2 separate regions of the Homo sapiens genome follow, and region 1 is linked to region 2. Evidence: promoter capture Hi-C in 16 types of primary human blood cells and fetal thymus (Javierre and others, 2016). All regions are on one chromosome and are shown on one strand. Each heading gives the region's core, a stretch centred on a gene start or on the middle of the fragment in contact. The rest is flanking DNA. Distances are from core to core; before and after follow the strand shown.

Region 1 (4,731 bases), core at 1,776-4,275, 670 kb before region 2:
GGTTCAAGTTGCAGCTCTTGTCATTTGTCAGCTGATGGCCCCGTGACCAAGCATCACTTCATCTTGTGGAGTCTCAGTTTTGTCTGTCCATAAATGGAACCAATACCTGCTTTTTCTCCCTTTCAATGTTGTGAGAATCCACTGGAATGTTTTATGTGGAAATATTTTTGCAAAACATTTAAGATTTTAAATATTTACTATTCAGTATTTAATAAATATTGAAAACATCTTTGCAACAAGTATCCATTTGTACCTACTTGAGGAAACCTACACACCGCTGAGGCAGTGGCAGCTCTGGGAGTGTTCACCAGGGAGAAGCTGCTGAGAGCAGCTGAGCAGGGAGGGCCTCGTGGAGTCTCTGGGGCTTGACTGGGGGTCAGGGGGCTGGCTGTGGACAGGTGGACCGAGAGGCAGAGGGAGCCCTGCCTGGGGGCTCTCCCTCCAGCCCATAGTGTCGGTGGCAGGGTGAGGGTGGCCGACAGCCCTGATGGGACTCCTTTCCATCTGGGAGCATGACTACTTCCAGCCTTGCTGAGTCTGTGTAGGAACTGGCAGAAGCTTCCTCTTGCTTAGAGGATGGAAGAAGATCAGGGTGGGTGTTTTGCGCCCACTGTGTCAGGAGGAGAGAAGTGAGCGGGGGTGTTTCACTACCTTGCCTGGGCTTTAAATGGGGAGGGGCGGGGAGAAGCTGGCAATGGACCCTCACTTGACGGGCCCTTCTGTGAGCTGGGGGCTTTGGCTTTCATGGCATGGTCCCCCGCACTTGGTATAAAGCGCAAGGCTCCTGTGGGTCCTAGGACTCAGTGCTGCTAATCAGATGTTCTTAATTAGAATCTGATTTTGTGTAATTTTCAGTAAGAATTTTAGACATTTCAGTTTATCTTCTAGACTCAGTTTTTCTCTCAGTTAACATTTTAGCTTTGAATCTGCTTTTGTGAGTTTTGTTAGGGGAAGCTTGTTGAACCGTAAGGGCTGTAGTGAGCATACAGCAATGCCTCTTCCATGCGTGCTGAGCTGCAGTGAGGGGACGGACAAGAGCCAAGGTGTGACCAGGTGATGTCGCTAGTGTCAGGGAACACTCATGCCAGTGAGGATCTTCCCACTCTCTGATGAAAACTAACAGGCTCCCCTCTCTCTCGCTGTGCCTGTTGTGACAACCATGACAGCTGGAGATGGAGGACGAGGACACCATCGACGTGTTCCAGCAGCAGACGGGAGGTGTGCCGGAGAGCAGCCTGGCAGGGCACAGTTTCTAGAGGGCCCGTCCCCAGCCCGGGCCGTCCATCCTCGCATTGCTGTTGAATGGTGAGCACGTGACCATGCCGACCACAAAGGTGTCTGCGGAAACTCGAGGACATTCACCACGATGATTTTCCTCTCTTTGATGTACTTCAAGTGCAACTCAAAACTATATCTGCAGGGATGAATCTGTAACTTAAATTGGGCCAATCAGAATTGTTATCTTTGTTCAGGTAAAATGAGTTGCAAGATATTGTGGGTACTTTTGTGTGCTCATTTGTGTTTTCCCCCCCTCCTACAACATTTTTTTAACCCCAAAATTATAGCCTGAATGTTCGCTTTTAGTCTGGCCAGGGATCTGACTCCTGAGTTGGTTGCCTCTCCCCTGCTCACTCCAGTCACATAGAGAATTGGTGTTTCCCGCAGTGGGGATGCAGCTGTTGGACAGGTATTGGGGGCAAGGTTGGTAGGGAGGACAGACTGTCACTTGCTGTTACAGGCACAGGTGATTAAAATGCTAAATATTGCAAATTTAAGCTTTGTCAGTATATGGAAAAGTTGAAGGGAAAATACTGGAATGCTTCTTCAAAGGTTAAAAAATAACCGAGTCTTTTGGTAATTTGACCCCACGTGCTCTCTGGCCCTCAAGCATGTAACCTCGGGGTCTGAGGCCCAGGACCCACCCCCCTGCCACCCCTCCCACCCCACTCCCTGCTCAGTACCTGGCGTTGGTACACAGGCAAGGATTGGCACAACCAAAATTGGCCTTTTTCTCCCTCTTAATATTGAAGAAATTCCCACATTTCTCATTTGGTAATGGTGTTGTGGCCTCAGATTTCTTCTAGTATTTGCTTCTGATGAATGATTATGGTCTATACATAAAAAAGTAAGACTAAGTATTGCTGAATTTGCAGTTATGTTGTCGTGTATAAGAGCTACTTCCAAGTGTGGTTACAAATGAACCCATGGAATGATGACTTCATGTTCTTCTCGTGGGTTTGTGCCGTGCTGCTTTCCAAATAGGTATTGAATTTATGCATTAGTCTGGTGATTTCAGTTCTGTGAAATATTTTGGGATCTATACCAATTAAACATTTTCATAGTTCTGCCTATTGTCCTTCCCTGAGGCTCCATTGCTGCTTGGTGGCCATTCTCTGCCTTTTTACAGTCACCTGAACAATGACCCATCATCTCTTGCTTGCTTGAAATCTTGCTGAAATGTTCTCATTTCCTGTTTGCTGTATGGGCTCGGGTGGGATGTTTGTTGGCTCTGTTGTGTTTATTCACCAATTTGTACATTATTTGTTGTCCTTTACTACTGTAAACAGTAAATATAGTTTGGTATTCTGTCTCTTGGCTTCTACTAAACACTGCATTTGAAGGTTGGGGCATACTGGTACAATTCAGTGTTTGAATTGACCATTCCAGGCAGCCACTGCACTGAGAAACTTTGATTGAAAAGCTAGCCGCTGGAAGGTTAGTATTCGCCTGGCAGCTCATTTCCCCTCCCCTGGCACATCACCAATGCTAGTCCAGCCTTCTTCCTGCTGAGGGATGCATCCTCTCCTCAGAGACCTCCTGGCTGACAGCTGTCTGAGCTGGCATCACTGTGACATGTTACCCTCCCTCTCCTGGGTTTCGTATGTAAAGAAAGGGTGGATTTTAGAGGCAGGTGAGCTTGGGTGTTAGTCTAGGACATCTCTCGTTTTCTGGTGTTTGAATGTAAGTCAGCTTTCCTTCTGCCATGGACAACTTACCTATCTGCTTTGAAACTGAACTGACATTGATTTGGCTTTAAGAATTTCCCAGTGTGCAGTGGTGTAACAAAACCCAGGTTGAAAATGAGCTGTTTTAGCCCATCAGTTGAATGAACCCAAGGTGAAGAAAGATGGGCAGCTGTGGAGATGGAACACGTGATTCACTTGCACCAGGAAGAGTGCACGGATTAAGGCACAATACAGGATGGGGACATCTGCCAGATTCCCTAGGCAGCCTGGGGCGAAGCGGCTGCCAAAATCAATGAGGAAAGGGATGTGTCCCAGGCACCGTAGGTTAGATAAGAATAATGGCCAGGAGCATATGTGGATGTATTAGGGCAGCGCTGCTTGAACTTCCACCCACAACACCTCACAGCAGAACCAGCAGGATGTCCTGTCTTTCTAAAAAAGATTTGTAGAGATGGAGCTCTCACTATATTGCTGTATTAGTGCATCCTCACATTACTATAAAGAACTACCTGAGACTGGGTAATTTATAAAGAAAAGAGGTTTAATTGACTCATAGTTCTGTAGGCTGTACAGGAAGCATGGCTAGGGAGGCCTCAGGAAACTTATAATCATGGCAGAAGAGGAAGGGCATGGACACAAATCCAAACCATAAATCAGTTGCCCAAGCTGATCTCAGACTCCTGGCCTCAAGTGATCCTCGTGCCTCAGCCTGCCAAGTAGTTGGGATTACAGGCATGAGCCATGGTGCCCAGCAAAGGTATGTTCTTGAAGTTGTCTTTTTTCTGAGATTTATGCAAATGGTGCATTTGGAAAAATAGATCTGTTGGGATTACTATTTTCAACAAGATTACTTATGTGAAACTGACTCCAAGAATCTTTGGGTTAAATTGATGCTCCTGGAGGAGAGAGGCCCTATTTATCCTAGTATCTATGCCTGGGGTCCCAACTGGAACTTCTCCAGTTTTTGCACCGAAAGGTTCACATCCCAGGAACCCCCACTCCCAGGGAACTTGAGTTGTCATCTTAGCCATGCTGCAGGAGTGCCCAGCTGGAAACGCGTGATGTTCATGGGAAAACCCCACCGTATAACATGGGTTAAGCTGTGAGGTCCTTTTTATATTTCAGAACTTTAGTTGCTAAAGATAGAAAGCATTAATTTTATTCTGTACAGTTGGCCTCCCCAGGGTGTGCTGCCCTGCAGTATCACACACTGGCTGCTCAGAGTCCCTGGGACTCCACTACCACTTGATCCAAGTTGAGAGTTCCACGAGTTAGCCAGTTAAAACATAGGATGCCCAGCTAAGCTTGAATTCCACATAAGGTACTGAACGACGTCCCTGAAATGTTGCAGAGAGCCTGGTTCTCTGAAGATAAGGTGTTGTAACAGTCCTGTTGAGGGGAGAGACTGCCATCTTGTTTCAGCAACTCATATTTCAAGTGACTTTTGTCACTTGAAGCTGAAGCTAATCCTGATAGAAGCTGTAAACCACATTTCTGAAAAATAATAATTGGAAAACATACAGTGTTCTGCAGTAAGATGTCTGAAAAAGATGGATAAAATTATGAAAACATCAAGCATATGTTGCAGTGAACATCACGGCATTGACAGTAATGCTTTATTGCCCACATCTCCCATAACTGGAAAAGGGGAGCTGCTCTCCTTTAGGAGCACTGGACAGACTGCCTTGGGGTGTGGGGTGCTGTCTGATTAGAGAGAGAGCAGCTCTTGAATGGGGGAGGAAACACCTCCACTGTGACTTTTTGC
Region 2 (4,677 bases), core at 1,931-4,430:
GGACGGTGGGACTCAGAGGGGAAGGTAAGAAGCCAGGACTCAGGACCAGTGAAGCAACCCGAAGGCCAGCCACCGCAGGAAGCTGCTAGCCCCCAGGTGTGGGGGCCGAAGGTGCAAGTCCAGGTGCAGAAGCCAGGGTCCCAGGCAGGAAAAGAAATCACAGGGGTCCCCACTGGTGAGAAGCACAGCCCCAGGAGGCAGCTATGGCTTCTTCCTCGAATCTCCAGCTCCGACCTCTCGTGGTCCGAGGCCAGTTGGAAGGCACCTTGGAATGGCCTGCACAGGGCTGTCAGGCAGGACAGGCAAGGGAAGGGGATCTCAGGCCACACAGGCCAGAACCACACACACCGCAGTAACAGACATGCTGCTGGGAACCAGCAAAACAGATCTGGAGCCCAGACAGGGGAAGAAGGTGGGCGACCAAGCTGAGAACCACCACCTTTGCTTAAGACCAAGGTATGAGCAGCCTGACTCAGTGGGAAGCGATCCGGTCGCCATTTTCAGTCCTTCTGTGAGTACTGGAAGGAAGGCACTCCTGAGCCTTGGCAGCATTACTTCTGGAACAGCCCGAGCACAGCTGCTCAGAAGGACGTTCATTTGCACACAAGACTTGGTTTAAGCTAAGCCAGCAAAAAAAGGCTGCACCGTGGGAGGTAGACAAGAAGCAAGTTCCAATCCCACCCCCACACCTGCTCTCGCCTTCGGACGGCTGCCCCTTGGTGTGGTCAATCACGTGCATCTGAGGGACGTCAGGAGCAAAGATCTGGACTTCAGCCCCTCCACGGCTCAGGTGCACCAGGATCCTGCACGGGGGAAAACCAGAGACAACTCTTCAAAACGTGCCCCACTCAGATTTGTGTTAACACATTTTTAAAAACAGGATTTTAGCTAAGTACCAGGAGCAAATTCCTAATGTATATTAATATCTTACTTGCTCTGCAAAAAGTTACAGTTGGTTCCATACCAAGCCAAACGTCCCCCACACCCCCATTCCAATTCACTGTCGGTTGGTGGGTTACGACTATGACAAACCCTCAGAAGTGGGCTATGGAGATCAGCTGGTCCCAACAGCTCCCTTTGCAAACTGGGGTATGGGGGCCGGGTGACTCCACTGAGGGCACAGCCTGGAGGCGTGCGGGTCCCCGGCTGCTGAGTGCTCTACCTACACCCAGGGCCTGGCTGCCCTCCTCCAGTTGCTTGCTGCAAGCACCAAGAGTGAGAAGCAGCAGTGTGCTCAGAGTGCCACGTGCACAGACGGTGTGACGGGGCTTTCGGTCACTACTTAGTTCAATTTCTAGTCTCCCTCAACTTTCCCATCACAGATGGTGGGAGAGACACAAGAGACCCCAGGACAACACCACAGGCCAGGCAGCTCCATCTCCCCAAGGGCAAGGGCAACAGAAGCTCCTCCTGGGGACAACAGCTGACATTATGGGGGCTCACGCTGGCATCCGCAACTCCCAGTGCCAACAGGAGATAGGTGGCTAAGCCCACCCACACACTAAGCCCTCACTGCCCCTTACGTGGAGGAGGAAACCGAGGCATGAAGTGCAGTGACTTGCCAGAGGGAGAGGTCAGCACCTGGCCCTGGCACTTGGGTTCCGCTACCCATAAGAAATCCACCCAGACACCCCAGACACAAGACCCTGCCGTTCTGCCTGGGAGGGCTCAAGCTATTCTGGGGCTATTTTCTATCCCACCAAGGCCAAATCATGAAACACATCCTGGCCCTTTCCCCCAGCTCACTCTGCCTAGTGCCAACTCCAACCAGCCAAGGTGGGCCACCCACAAAGCCACCAGCCTCAGGCCACTCTCCATGGCCTGACACCCCTTTCGCCACCACCCAGCTCTCCCCTCTCCAGTTCACCCTGAACCACATGGGAACTACAGGTACCTGGCACGCGTGGTGGCCTCCTGCCCTACTGGTTCGGCCTGCAGTCATTTCCAGTAGCACAGGAAATCAGGCCACCAAGCACTCAGCAACAGCTGACCAGTTACGTAAACAGTAACCTGTCTAGGACCCAGAAATACCACGCAACTGTTAAAATGATGTTGAGAACTGAATGAATGGGAATTACTTCCCATGCGTCAGAAACATTTGCAAAACACGGGTGAGTGTGATCTCAGTGTTTTCAAAATGTGTGTGTCCTGAAAAACACTCAAGTGAAATGCTAAGTCATTTCTAGGCTCTAGGTGACAGCATAAGCGACACTTAAAAACTGTTCTTTCTTAGCGTCTCCCTGGGTTTTGCAAGTCGTTTTTGCTTTTTTTTAGCCAAGAATAGGGTATTTAAAATACAAGCTCTCTCGGCCGGGTGCAGTGGCTCATGCCTGTAATCCCAGCACTTTGGGAGGCCAAAGCGGGAGGATCACTTGAGGTCAGGAGTTTGAGACCAGCCTGGCCAACATGGTGAAACTCCGTATCTACCAAAAATACACAAATTAGTTGGGTGTGGTGGTGCATGCTTGTAGTCCCAGCTACTCGGAAGGCTGAGGCAGGAGAATCGCTTGAACCCAGGAGGCGGAGGCCGCAGTGAGCCAAGATCGCGCCATTGCACTCCAGACTGGGCGCTGTCTCAAAAGACAAAAAGTAAAAATAAAATAAAATACATGCTTTCTCTAAGCTGTTCAAAAAAGAGTAAACTTCACTGGTGGAGAGGCCTTCTCGAGGCCCCCGGGGTGGAGGACCAGCTGCCCCTGAGGACTTACGCCGAGGCCTCGTGGATCTCGGTCCCATCGTAGACTCCGCATCCAGACAGCACCTGCGAGAGGAGCGGGAGCTGACCCGGGGGAAAGGGGCCGACCTGGGCGGCGGGAGTTGACTGGGGGGAAAGGGGCCGACCTGGGCCGCGGGCGCTGACCCGGGAAAATGGGGCCGACCTGGGCCGCAGGAGCTGACTTGGGGTGAAGGAGCCGACGTGGGGCGGCGGGAGCGGACCTAGGAAGAGGGGCCGACCTTGGGCAGAGAACAGCGAAGGCTGATCTCTGGAGGCGGGAGCTGACCTCACCCCCTCCGTCCACTCACCAGCGCGACCCTGGCCGCGGGGCGCGGCACGGAGAGGTGAAGGGCTGCGCGCTGGGAAGGCGTCCGACCGCCGGGGGACAGGGACGTGAATGCAGATGCCGCAGCGAGCCTCGAGGCCACCAGGACCCTCACAGCCGCCATTGCGGTGAGGACAGCGGGGTCGGAAGGTCACGCAGGGACAGAGCGTGCGCACCCACCCCTCTACAAACGCGTTGCTCGTCGGGACTGCGCCTGCGCAGCCTTCTGGGCGGAGCCAAGACCCGCCCCCGTCTCAGCCCTATCCAGTGAGTTCGCCGGTGGGCGGGGGCCGCGCCTGCGCAGAGCCTCCGAATAGAGTTCCGGGAACCCTGTCTTCCTTCCGGTGGTGGCTGAGGGCTCGTGCTCGAGGCTGAGGGATGCTGGTGACTCCCGGGGTCCCCAGCCCCGCCCCCATCGGACGCCTCCACAGGCGGCGCACCCTTTCCGCCATCCGCAGAGCAAGGCTGCCTCGGGGCGGCTCAGTCCGGCGCTTCTTACCTTACCTCCGTCTCATCCTTAACTCACCACGAGCGTCCAGGGTCCACATCCTCCTAAATGGCCACTCGTCTTAATCTCGGCGTCAGGACCCACGCGGGGTCAGGACTACCCCTCCGCTTCCATGACTGTCTCCTCGCGGCTCCGGCTCCCACGGAGCGACCCCTCCGGGTTTTACTGACCCCGGGATGTTGTATCCTGGAAACTGCAGTTCCACCCAGGGGCTTGATCTGGGTTAGTCTGGGGGCAAGTGAGCCGCCGATTCTGTTTGGGTTTTTTTTTTTTTTTTTTTGAGACGGAGTTTCCCTCTTGTTGCCCGGGCTGGAGTGCAATGGCGCGAAGTCGGCTCAACGCAACCTCCGCCTCCCAGGTTCAAGCGACTCTTCTGCCTCAGCCTCCCAAGTAGCTGGGACTACAGGCATGCGCCACCACGCCAGGCTAATTTTGTATTTTTAGTAGAGACGGGGTTTCTCCATGTTGGTCTGGCTGGTCTTGAACTCCCGAGCTCAGGTGATCTGCCCGCCTCGGACTCCCAAAGTGCTGGGATTACAGGCGTGAGCCACCATTCCCGGGCGCTGTTTGGGTTTGTTTTTTTGTTTTTGTTTTTTACGTTCACAGCATGGACGGTCAGTGTGAAGATCCCAGCTGCTCGGGTCCTAGCTGGAATTCTTCCATTAAAAAAATCTGTTTGTTATGCATGGGTTAGTTCACAGAGGAATAGCTGGATAAGTGCTGGCTTTTTCCCCGATTTACCCATTTTCAACCTAATAATGCAGGTTTTTGAAATAATGTGAATGGTTACTGCTGGCGGATGTTCACAGGGACACACCGGATTCTACAGACACATCTGATGATCTAGCCACGGCTGTCACTTTCCCCACTGCCGCGTTGTCCATCACTAGGACTTTACTGCCAATCCTTGCAAGATAGTGGGGAACTAGAATAACAGACATGGGACATTACCAGTTACAACCAAAGACAAGCTTGGCACATTTGACTGTCCTCGTTCCTGCTCCTCCGTGCCTGGCCCTCTTCAGGCTTCTCAGCTCCTGGGGAGCGGCCAGCCAGGGAGCATCAGCTGGTGGGAGCGATGGGGTTGTGGGATGGCACAAAAAAACACCAAGCGCCACTCAGAAAGGA

The links. Contacts are between HindIII fragments. The CHiCAGO score rates a contact against its expected background, and 5 or more counts as called.
Region 1: a contact is called between a fragment that was not itself captured here and the fragment with the promoter of GATD3 in region 2, in 1 of 17 cell types (naive B cells). The highest score is 6.2, in naive B cells.

What each region holds. Positions count from the first base shown.
Region 1 is chr21:44,803,476-44,808,206 of GRCh38, reverse strand. It overlaps SUMO3 (small ubiquitin like modifier 3), which reads left to right. Exons shown (of 4, transcript NM_006936.3): 4 at 1,167-2,590. The coding sequence ends at 1,256. LINC01424 (long intergenic non-protein coding RNA 1424) reads right to left here. Exons shown (of 2, transcript NR_109928.1): 2 at 3,490-4,460. Among named protein-coding and RNA genes, the nearest start is that of LINC01424, 3.6 kb to the right of the region's middle. RefSeq lists a silencer at 886-1,039. The HindIII fragment of the contact is 2,494 bases long and covers 1,779-4,272 here.
Region 2 is chr21:44,132,186-44,136,862 of GRCh38, reverse strand. It overlaps GATD3 (glutamine amidotransferase class 1 domain containing 3), which reads right to left and starts at 3,180. Exons shown (of 7, transcript NM_004649.8): 1 at 3,025-3,180; 2 at 2,709-2,761; 3 at 690-803. The coding sequence starts at 3,165. RefSeq lists enhancers at 2,097-2,624, 2,625-3,152, 3,153-3,680. The HindIII fragment of the contact is 13,325 bases long and covers 1-4,522 here.